Regions from separate parts of the Homo sapiens genome. Here regions 1 and 2 are each linked to region 3. Evidence: promoter capture Hi-C in human tissues and cell types (Jung and others, 2019). All regions are on one chromosome and are shown on one strand. The core of a region is centred on a gene start or on the middle of the fragment in contact, and the rest is flanking DNA. Distances in the headings are between cores, read along the strand shown.

What was found. Contacts are between HindIII fragments. The study calls those that stand out against the background at their distance.
Region 1: a contact is called between a fragment that was not itself captured here and the fragment with the promoter of RPL9 in region 3, in 1 of the 25 tissues and cell types used here (spleen).
Region 2: a contact is called between a fragment that was not itself captured here and the fragment with the promoter of RPL9 in region 3, in 1 of the 25 tissues and cell types used here (dorsolateral prefrontal cortex).

The regions. Positions count from the first base shown.
Region 1 is chr4:40,183,085-40,185,784 of GRCh38, reverse strand. It overlaps a transcript of N4BP2 not described here. Among named protein-coding and RNA genes, the nearest start is that of RHOH, 13 kb to the left of the region's middle. The HindIII fragment of the contact is 3,872 bases long and covers 1-2,700 here.
Region 2 is chr4:40,317,873-40,320,572 of GRCh38, reverse strand. The region is part of intron 2 of LINC02265 (long intergenic non-protein coding RNA 2265); the gene reads right to left. Among named protein-coding and RNA genes, the nearest start is that of LINC02265, 12 kb to the right of the region's middle. The HindIII fragment of the contact is 3,787 bases long and covers 1-2,700 here.
Region 3 is chr4:39,457,662-39,460,361 of GRCh38, reverse strand. RPL9 (ribosomal protein L9) reads left to right here and starts at 1,440. Exons shown (of 8, transcript NM_000661.5): 1 at 1,440-1,471; 2 at 1,922-1,968; 3 at 2,053-2,168; 4 at 2,681-2,700. The coding sequence starts at 1,923. It overlaps LIAS (lipoic acid synthetase), which reads right to left and starts at 1,306. Exons shown (of 11, transcript NM_006859.4): 1 at 1,200-1,306. The coding sequence starts at 1,244. RefSeq lists enhancers at 779-828, 1,199-1,493, 1,689-2,439 and a silencer at 1,209-1,258. The HindIII fragment of the contact is 10,915 bases long and covers 1-2,700 here.

The DNA.
Region 1 (2,700 bases), core at 115-2,614, 730 kb before region 3:
TAAAAGAAAAGGAAGTAGTTTTGTAATTTCTCCTAAATGAGTACCTTCCTGCTTACATGGCATTTTAAATTACATATAAAATTTCAAGATTAGTCATAAACAAATGTTTTTTGCTTTTTTTAAAAACCACATAAACCTTTTAAAAAGTAAAATTTCTATTAAAATGTTTTTTTCCAAATAATAAGTTTAAGTTCTCAAATGTTTACCAAAAACAAAACAAGCTTTACAATTTTGAGCAAACCTATCTCTATAGTATTTATTATTCAAAATAGAAAATAAAATTGTTTTTGTTCTCTAATTCTTGTCTTTTAATCTTCTAAATATACAATAATGAGATTTCTAAAAATACTTTGAAAGGGTATTCACATTACTAAGTTTTCTTTTAACTTTAAATTTTTTTCTTTCAAATTCAATTTACAATAGCCTTTTATATTATCATTTATCACAAGAAAACCATAAAACAGCAAAAACCACTATTGCTATTATTAGCAACATCTTCACTTTGTAAATGAGAAAAGTGAAGTTCAGAAAGGTTAAGCAACTTACATAAGGCCACACAGCCAATGAGTAAGGGGACTCCCTGAATCAATTTACTTCTACAGCATTTCCCCTTACAGAAGACAAATTACTTTTCAAATTAATTCATTACAGGACAACAAGAGGCACACGTCGAATGGAAGGGAGACCTGAAAAAAATAGAGAAAAACTGTTATTTTTAAAGGGACATGGATTTATTATTACAAAGAGTAAGCTATAAAATTAAACTATCTGTACAGTAAAATCCCAATTTATTTTTTATTTTATTTATTTATTTATTTATTTATTTTTTGAGACAGAGTCTTGCTCTGTTGCCCAGGCTGGAGTGCAGTGGCGCAATGTCGGCTCACTGCAACCTCCGCCTCCCAGGTTCAAGCGATTCTTACGCCTCAGCCTCCCGAGCAGCTGGGATTACAAATGTGTGCCACCACGCCCAGATAATTTTTGTGTTTTCAGTAGAGATGGGGTTTCTCCATGTTGGCCAGGCTAGTCTCGAACTCCTGATCTTTGATGATCCACCTGCCTCGGCCTCCCAAAGTGCTGGGATTACAGGCATGAGCCACCATGCCCAGCCCAAATCTCAATTTAATATGAAAAAAATTTTTCACGTCTGAAAGGCAACAAATAATTAGACCCGATAGTAATAGTGACTGTCTCTGAATGGTAAAATTGGAGATAATTTTTTCACTTTTTTCTTTAATTTTTTGTACTCTGCAGATTTTTAATGATCAGTAAGGATTAACTCTATAATCAGAAAAATAAACATTACAATCTATTTTTAATAAAGAGCTGTACTCATATAGTTTATTCTCTTCAGTGATTCTCTAATGTATTTGGTTTCACTTCAGTTTTTTGCTTTGCTGGGAATTTTTTATTTAAAAAAAAAAAGGCAGATGAAGTTTCATTGTAAAGAAAAAAAAATAATGTGAAGTCCAGTGCTGCATTTTGAGGGCCTGTTTCTCCATTCTAGCCCGTGCAGCCATACAGGGAAGCTTCTGAGAACTTAATCTGAAAACCATTTTTGTGGTTTTCTTTGTCTCCACAGTAAGTCCCACGTTTAACATAGATGACTACCTGCCCGATAGTCATGTCTTCTTCCTTGCTAAAGAACCTCTATTTTGAGATGGACAAAATGTTCTGTTCCAGGGGGTGAATCATGATGTCTAAGACTGAAAAAGAATCTTCTGATTCCTGCTTCTCAGCTTCCCCTGCAGCTATGAGTGGCTGTGTGACCCAGTCCTCATCAACGAAATGTTCGGGAAAGTCTTGCTTGCTCCTGGGAGAGGTCCTCCTCACCAGTTAAAGTAGACACGGGCAGGAGCACCCGTCTTCCTTACATGCTTTGGGTGTAGCCGTGGAGAATTAGATGCCTTGAAGGTTGCAGCAGCCCTGAGGACAAGCAAAGAAACCCAAAAAACTGCAGAGAGACACAGCAGAAGCCTGGCATTGTTGACTCACTTACCACCTCTTACTTTTTATTATGTGAGATAAATGTCTTACCTAAGCCACAGTTCATTACTCTAATACTTGACTGTCTTCTAATGATATAGTAACAAATAACAAAAAGCTTATGACGTTGAAGCTACCAACCTCTTATAAAATGTAAAAAGTAGGCCGGTCGCAGTGGCTCACGCCTGTAATCCCGGCACTTTGGGAGGCCGAGGCGGGCGGATCACGAGGTCAGAAGGTCGAGACCATCCTGGCTAACATGGTGAAACCCCGTCTCTACTAAAAATACAAAAAAATTAGCTGGGCACGGTAGCGGGCTCCTGTAGTCCCAGCTACTCGGGAGGCTGAGGCAGGAGAATGGCGTAAACCCGGGAGGCGGAGCTTGCAGTGAGCAGAGATCGCGCCACTGCACTCCAGCCTGGGCGACAGAGCCAGACGCCGTCTCAAAAAAAAAAAAAAAATGTAAAAAGTAGTTTAGCCAATACCCAACCTAAATGGCCAAAAATGTAGAATACTGTATAGAAATGATTGGTAGATTATCTTACTGGGATGTTACACACGGTCATTTGAAAATAGTATTTGGGAAGATCATGTGACCACATAAGGAGATGCTCATGATACAAGGTTACGTGCAAAAAGAGAAACAGGACTTGGGATTGTATCTGTGCATTATGACTACAACAGTGTTTCCAAAGACTATGAGGAAGCAAAGCC
Region 2 (2,700 bases), core at 201-2,700, 860 kb before region 3:
TCCCCAGTATTTGATATACAAGAGGTGTCCAATAAATGCTCATGAAATACATGATTGTAGTGGTGAGAGCCAGGCCTGACAGAGATCTCTTGATTGGCAGTCACCCTCCTCCCATGCCACAATTCCCCAGGCAGTCTTGGCTGGCCTTCCCTGGGCAGTGACGCTTCTGGTGTCCGCGGTGAGAGGATGGTGGCAGCTGAGTGTCTTAACCTTAATGTGCACACACCTGTGCCAAGCATGGCTCCCTAAAGGGCAGCCTTAAGAGCAAGATGAAACAACCTTGGATGTAAATGCGCCTGGCAGAGAAACTAGCCCCACTGTGACCCAGCTTGTCAGAGTGGATCCCCGTTGCGGAACGGATGTGCTGTGTTTGGGAGCTGACAGATTCCAGTCAAAATGGAAGGACCTAAATGAATTTAGATTCCACCTTTGACCTAGCCTGGATGCAGAGGCTCATGCCTGTAATCCCAGCACTTTGGGAGGCCGAGGCAGGCAGATCACTTGAGATCAGGAGTTCGAGACCAGCCTGGCCAACATGGCAAAACCCCACCTCTACTAAAAATATAAAAATTAGCTGGGCGTGGTGGCAGGCGCCTATAATCCCAGATTCTCGGGAAGCTGAGGCAAAAGAATCACTTGAACCCGGGAGGTGGAGGTTGCAGTGAGCCGAGATCGCACCACTGCAGTCCAGCCTGGGCGACAGAGTGAGACTCTGTTTCAAAAAAAAAAAAAAAATTCTACCTTTGACCTAAATCCAGTGTAGTAATAGCCAAGATAAGTAAGATAAGTACAAGCTCAAGAGTTAAGCTTCTGGAGAAAAGAGAACTGTATTTAACTTAACTTAGGTTGTAAGCCCCTCAGCAGAGGGGAGTGGATCACCTTTTTGATGAGAATACATGTTTTAAGATAAATATTAAAACCACTTCCAGCTGGTCATGGTGGCTCACACCTGTAATCCCAGCACTTTGGGAGGCTAAGGTGGGTGGATCACAAGGTCAGGAGTTCGAGACCAGCCTGGCCAAAATGGTGAAACCCCATCTCTACTAAAAATACAAACATCAGCCTGGCATGGTGGTGGGCGCCTGTAGTCCCGGCTACTTGGGAAGCTGAGGCAGGAAAATCGCTTGAACCCGGGATGCAGAAGTTGCAGTGAGCCAAGATCTGGCCACTGCACTCCAGCCTGGGTGACAGAGCGAGACTCTGTCTCAAACAACACAAAACAAAACAAAAAAAATATTTCCTAGTTTCCCAGTAGAAACAGGCACTGAGAGGTGAGTTTTGATCAGAATAGTGCTGCAAAATCCACTCATACTGCAAATATTTACTGAATGCTGGGCAGAGAGTTCACAAGAATTAACTACACATCATCTCATCCTTCAAGGTGATTATGGAATATTTAGAGGAAAAAGACAAATTTCTAAGAAAAGCTGAATAACAATAAAAGTTAAATAAGTAATGCAAGCAAGAAGACTATTTTTTTTTTTTTTTTGAGAGAAGTCTCACTCTTGTTCCCCAGGCTGGAGTTCAATGGCACAGTCTCGGCTCACTGCAACCTCCATCTCCCGGGTTCAAAAGATTCTCCTGCCTCAGCCTCCCAAGTAGCTGGGATTACAGGCGCCTGCCACCAGGTCCGGCTAATTTTTTTGTATTTTTGGTAGAGACGGGGTTTCACCATGTTGGCCAGGCTGGTCTCAAATTCCTGACCTCAGGAGATCCACCTGCCTTGGCCTCCCAAAGTGCTGGGATTACAGGCGTGAGCCACTGCACCTGACTCTTTTTTTTTTTTTTTTTGACAGGGTCTTGCTTTGTCACCCACTGGAGTGCAATGGTGCAATCTCAGGTCATTGCAACCTCTGCCTCCTGGACTCAAGCGATCCTCCCACCTCGGCCTCCAGAGAGCTGGGACCACAGGCACCGCCACCACATCCAGCTACTTTTTTTTTTTATTTTTAGTAGAGACAGGGATTTCACCATGTTGCCCGGGCTAGTCCCGAACTCCTAAGCTCAAGCGATTTGCCCACATCAGCCTCCCACAGTGCTGGGATTATAGGCGTGAGCCACTGCACCCTGCCAACTATTCCTTAAAGGCGTGACTCGCTGCCAAATGAGAGGTCTGAACCAGAAGTTCAGAGAAGGGAAAGAAGGTTGTGCCTCCAGGGTGGACTGATCCATAGGAGGCAGAGACCAAAAACGAGGCTCTCACTTGACGGACTGGACCAGCAAGATGGAGTGCATGGTGGAGGCGTGGGGGTGCATCTTGGTAGAAAAAAAGCCTTTGGGATTTGGGACTGGAGTTTCTGTTCTGTCATTTATTAGTGAGAGATCTCAGGCATTTTTAAAAAATCTTCTTTGCACCTCAGTTTCCTCATGGGTGAAAGGAATAATATTATCTACCCCACTGGGCTCCACATATCATTCAGACCACAAGCATCTGTGGAGTCTACTTATACTAAGCCCTTTTGATAAGCCCTGGAGTACAAGATGAAAAGAGAAGGGCCTGCCCTCAAGAGCTGCCAGAGAAGGAGGGGCAGTCACTGTTGGTCCCTCTCTTCATTTACCTTCCAGGGGTCTGTCTTTTTGTTTGTTTGTTTGTTTGTTTGTTTTGTTTTGTTTTTTGTGTGTGTGAGAGATGGAGTCTCACTCTGTCATCCAGGCTGGAGTGCAGTGGCACGATCTCGGCTCACTGCAAGCTTCGCCTCC
Region 3 (2,700 bases), core at 191-2,690:
CAGGGTTTCACCATGTTAGCCAGGATGGTCTCGATCTCCTGACCTCAGGTGATCCACCTGCCTCGGCCTCCCAAAGTGCTGGGATTACAGGCGTAAGCCACCGCACCCGGCCCGAAAATCTCTGGAACTAACATATATCACACTTTCATGTACTCCACCTACCAGGAACTAGATGTTTGTCTTTCAACAAGATTGAACTGCAATAACTGAAGAAGGTGCCACAGTTTAAAACTGTTCTGGTCCTGACTTGAATCAGGGGCGTTTAAAGTGAAGTGTGCAATAAATCTCTCGAGCTTTGAATAATTGTTGAAACGTAGGTTAATAATGCCCAATTAGTTTCAGACAACTGGAAGGTTAAAACCAAGCCTAACGTTTTTACTTTCTTTTTCTTTTTTTTTTTTTGAGATGGAGTCTCGCTCTGTCGCCCAGGTTGGAGTGCAGTTGCGCGATCTCGGCTCACTGCAACCTCCGCCTCGCGGGTTCAAGCGATTCTCCTGCCTCAGCCTGGCGAGTAGCTGGGACTACAGGCGCACGCCACCACGCTCAGCTAATTTTTGTATTTTTAATAGAGGCGGGGTTTCACCATGTTGGCCAGGATGAACGTTTTTACTTTCTAGGTTACATTGTTTCTGTGTTTGAACGTGGCAGTCAAGAACATAAGAAATCATGGTATTCGGCTTTTACATCTGAACACAAACGTGTATGAGATAGCCAAAACACTACAAAATCCACGAGTCTGCACATGTATCTCAAAAGAACCTTCGACAACTCAAAGAGTGCCTGTTAGGGTGTTGCACGATTGCTACTGCACTTCTCAATGTCTGCCGCTGAAGCCTAGCGGACAGGTTTGTGTTCTCTGCGGCTAGAGTGGTGTCTCACACACAGTAAGAGTCCAAGACAGAATAGCTATGTGGGGTGCTCACTGCAGTGCTCCATAAATATAGGGTACAAACCACTCTAAGCAGAAAATAAGTCCTCGGTGCTGGCCCAGAGAGACTTGCAAACAAACTGATGCCAGAGACTCTATATCATGGGGCTGGCGGGATAATTACATGAGATTACACGAAAAACGTTTAAAACTGCCGTTGGCTAGTAGTAAATGTTCAGTAAATGCACTGGCCTTTATTATTGGGCATGGGCGCTCTGAAGGGATAGGATCCCCCCACCCCACGCCCAAACCCGTTCGCCCCGCCGCTCACCCGGGGCCCCAGGGTGCGGGCTGCATCCCCGCAGCGTAGAGACATTTCCTCTTTAGGACTAGCGCAGTGCAGGGGTTGAGGGATCGCTAACTCCCGGGAAAGGACAGGTCGAAATTACGTCGCTCCATTTATGACAAGCAGCCAAGCTGCTCCACGATTGGCTGCTTTAGCCTTACGTGCGTCGCGCACTCATGACGCAATACGCAGGCCCCTTACGCGATACAAGTACGTAATGACGACAGACGTTCTTTCTTTGCTGCGTCTACTGCGAGGTAAGGATGTTTCTGTGCTCGTGGGGGTACTGGGAATCTGAAACCATCTGCTCTGGGAAAGGCTGCGGCGCGGCTCCCACTCTCGGAACCTTGTCCTGTTTGTCCCCCAGCTCGGCAAGCGCCATATGAGCCTGGCGGCGCCAGATGCGAATCCTGTTGTGGGCTTTTTGGCCTATTCCCGCCCCTCAGTCTTGCCGGGATGGCACCGCCCGCATAGGACTTCCAGGGTTGGGCTGAGTGGGAGTTCGACTGCTGGGCCTCGTAATTCTCGCTTTGGGGCTGCTCCTTCCAGGCTGGGACACACTGGGGCCCGCTGTCGGTCTCCCGTCCTCCGACATCTTGTCTGGAACTTCCGCCTGGCAGTCTCCAGTAGGAGTGGAGCTCTGTGCGGCGTAGTTTGGTGGAAAAACGGGCCTTGCGTCGGCCTCACCCCCAGTGTTTGTGTTTCAGAATGAAGACTATTCTCAGCAATCAGACTGTCGACATTCCAGAAAATGGTATGAGACTTGATGTCTTTTACTTACATCTTTACTGCACGTTCCAAGCGTTGTGTGGCCTGACGAGTGTGTTCTCTCTTCTAGTCGACATTACTCTGAAGGGACGCACAGTTATCGTGAAGGGCCCCAGAGGAACCCTGCGGAGGGACTTCAATCACATCAATGTAGAACTCAGCCTTCTTGGAAAGAAAAAAAAGAGGGTGAGGGTTTTTCTTCTGATAATTCAGTTGCTCGTTGGAAGGTGGTTTATAACAGCATCACATTTGGTTGCTTTAACAATTTTCGAATTAAGGTTCAGTGCTTCAGCTTTAAATGTTGCTGTCCAGAATACCAGCCTGTTCAGTGAAATTGAAAAACCAGATTCTGAACACAGCCAATTATATAAAGCTCAAATGTAATAGTGGTCATCAGTGACACGTCTTAATGGTGTTAGAAGTTTGGTTTATTTTCCTAGTGATTGCTTTGTAAAAATCACAGGAACCGGCAGTAGGTCATTTAAACCTGATGATTTAATTTTCCAGAAGGGAAGTTTGTTGCAACTTCTACAAAGCTTAACTGTTGGGAGGTTTTATAGGTGGTTGGATTTTTCCAGTTGAAAACCATGTGCTTTGATAAGGGTTAATTCTAGAATCTTAAAGTAATTCGGTAAGTGGTCTGTTGTCTTTTAAGCCTGCATATTTCTGGAAAGAATACATTTTTTGTTCTGTTACAGCTCCGGGTTGACAAATGGTG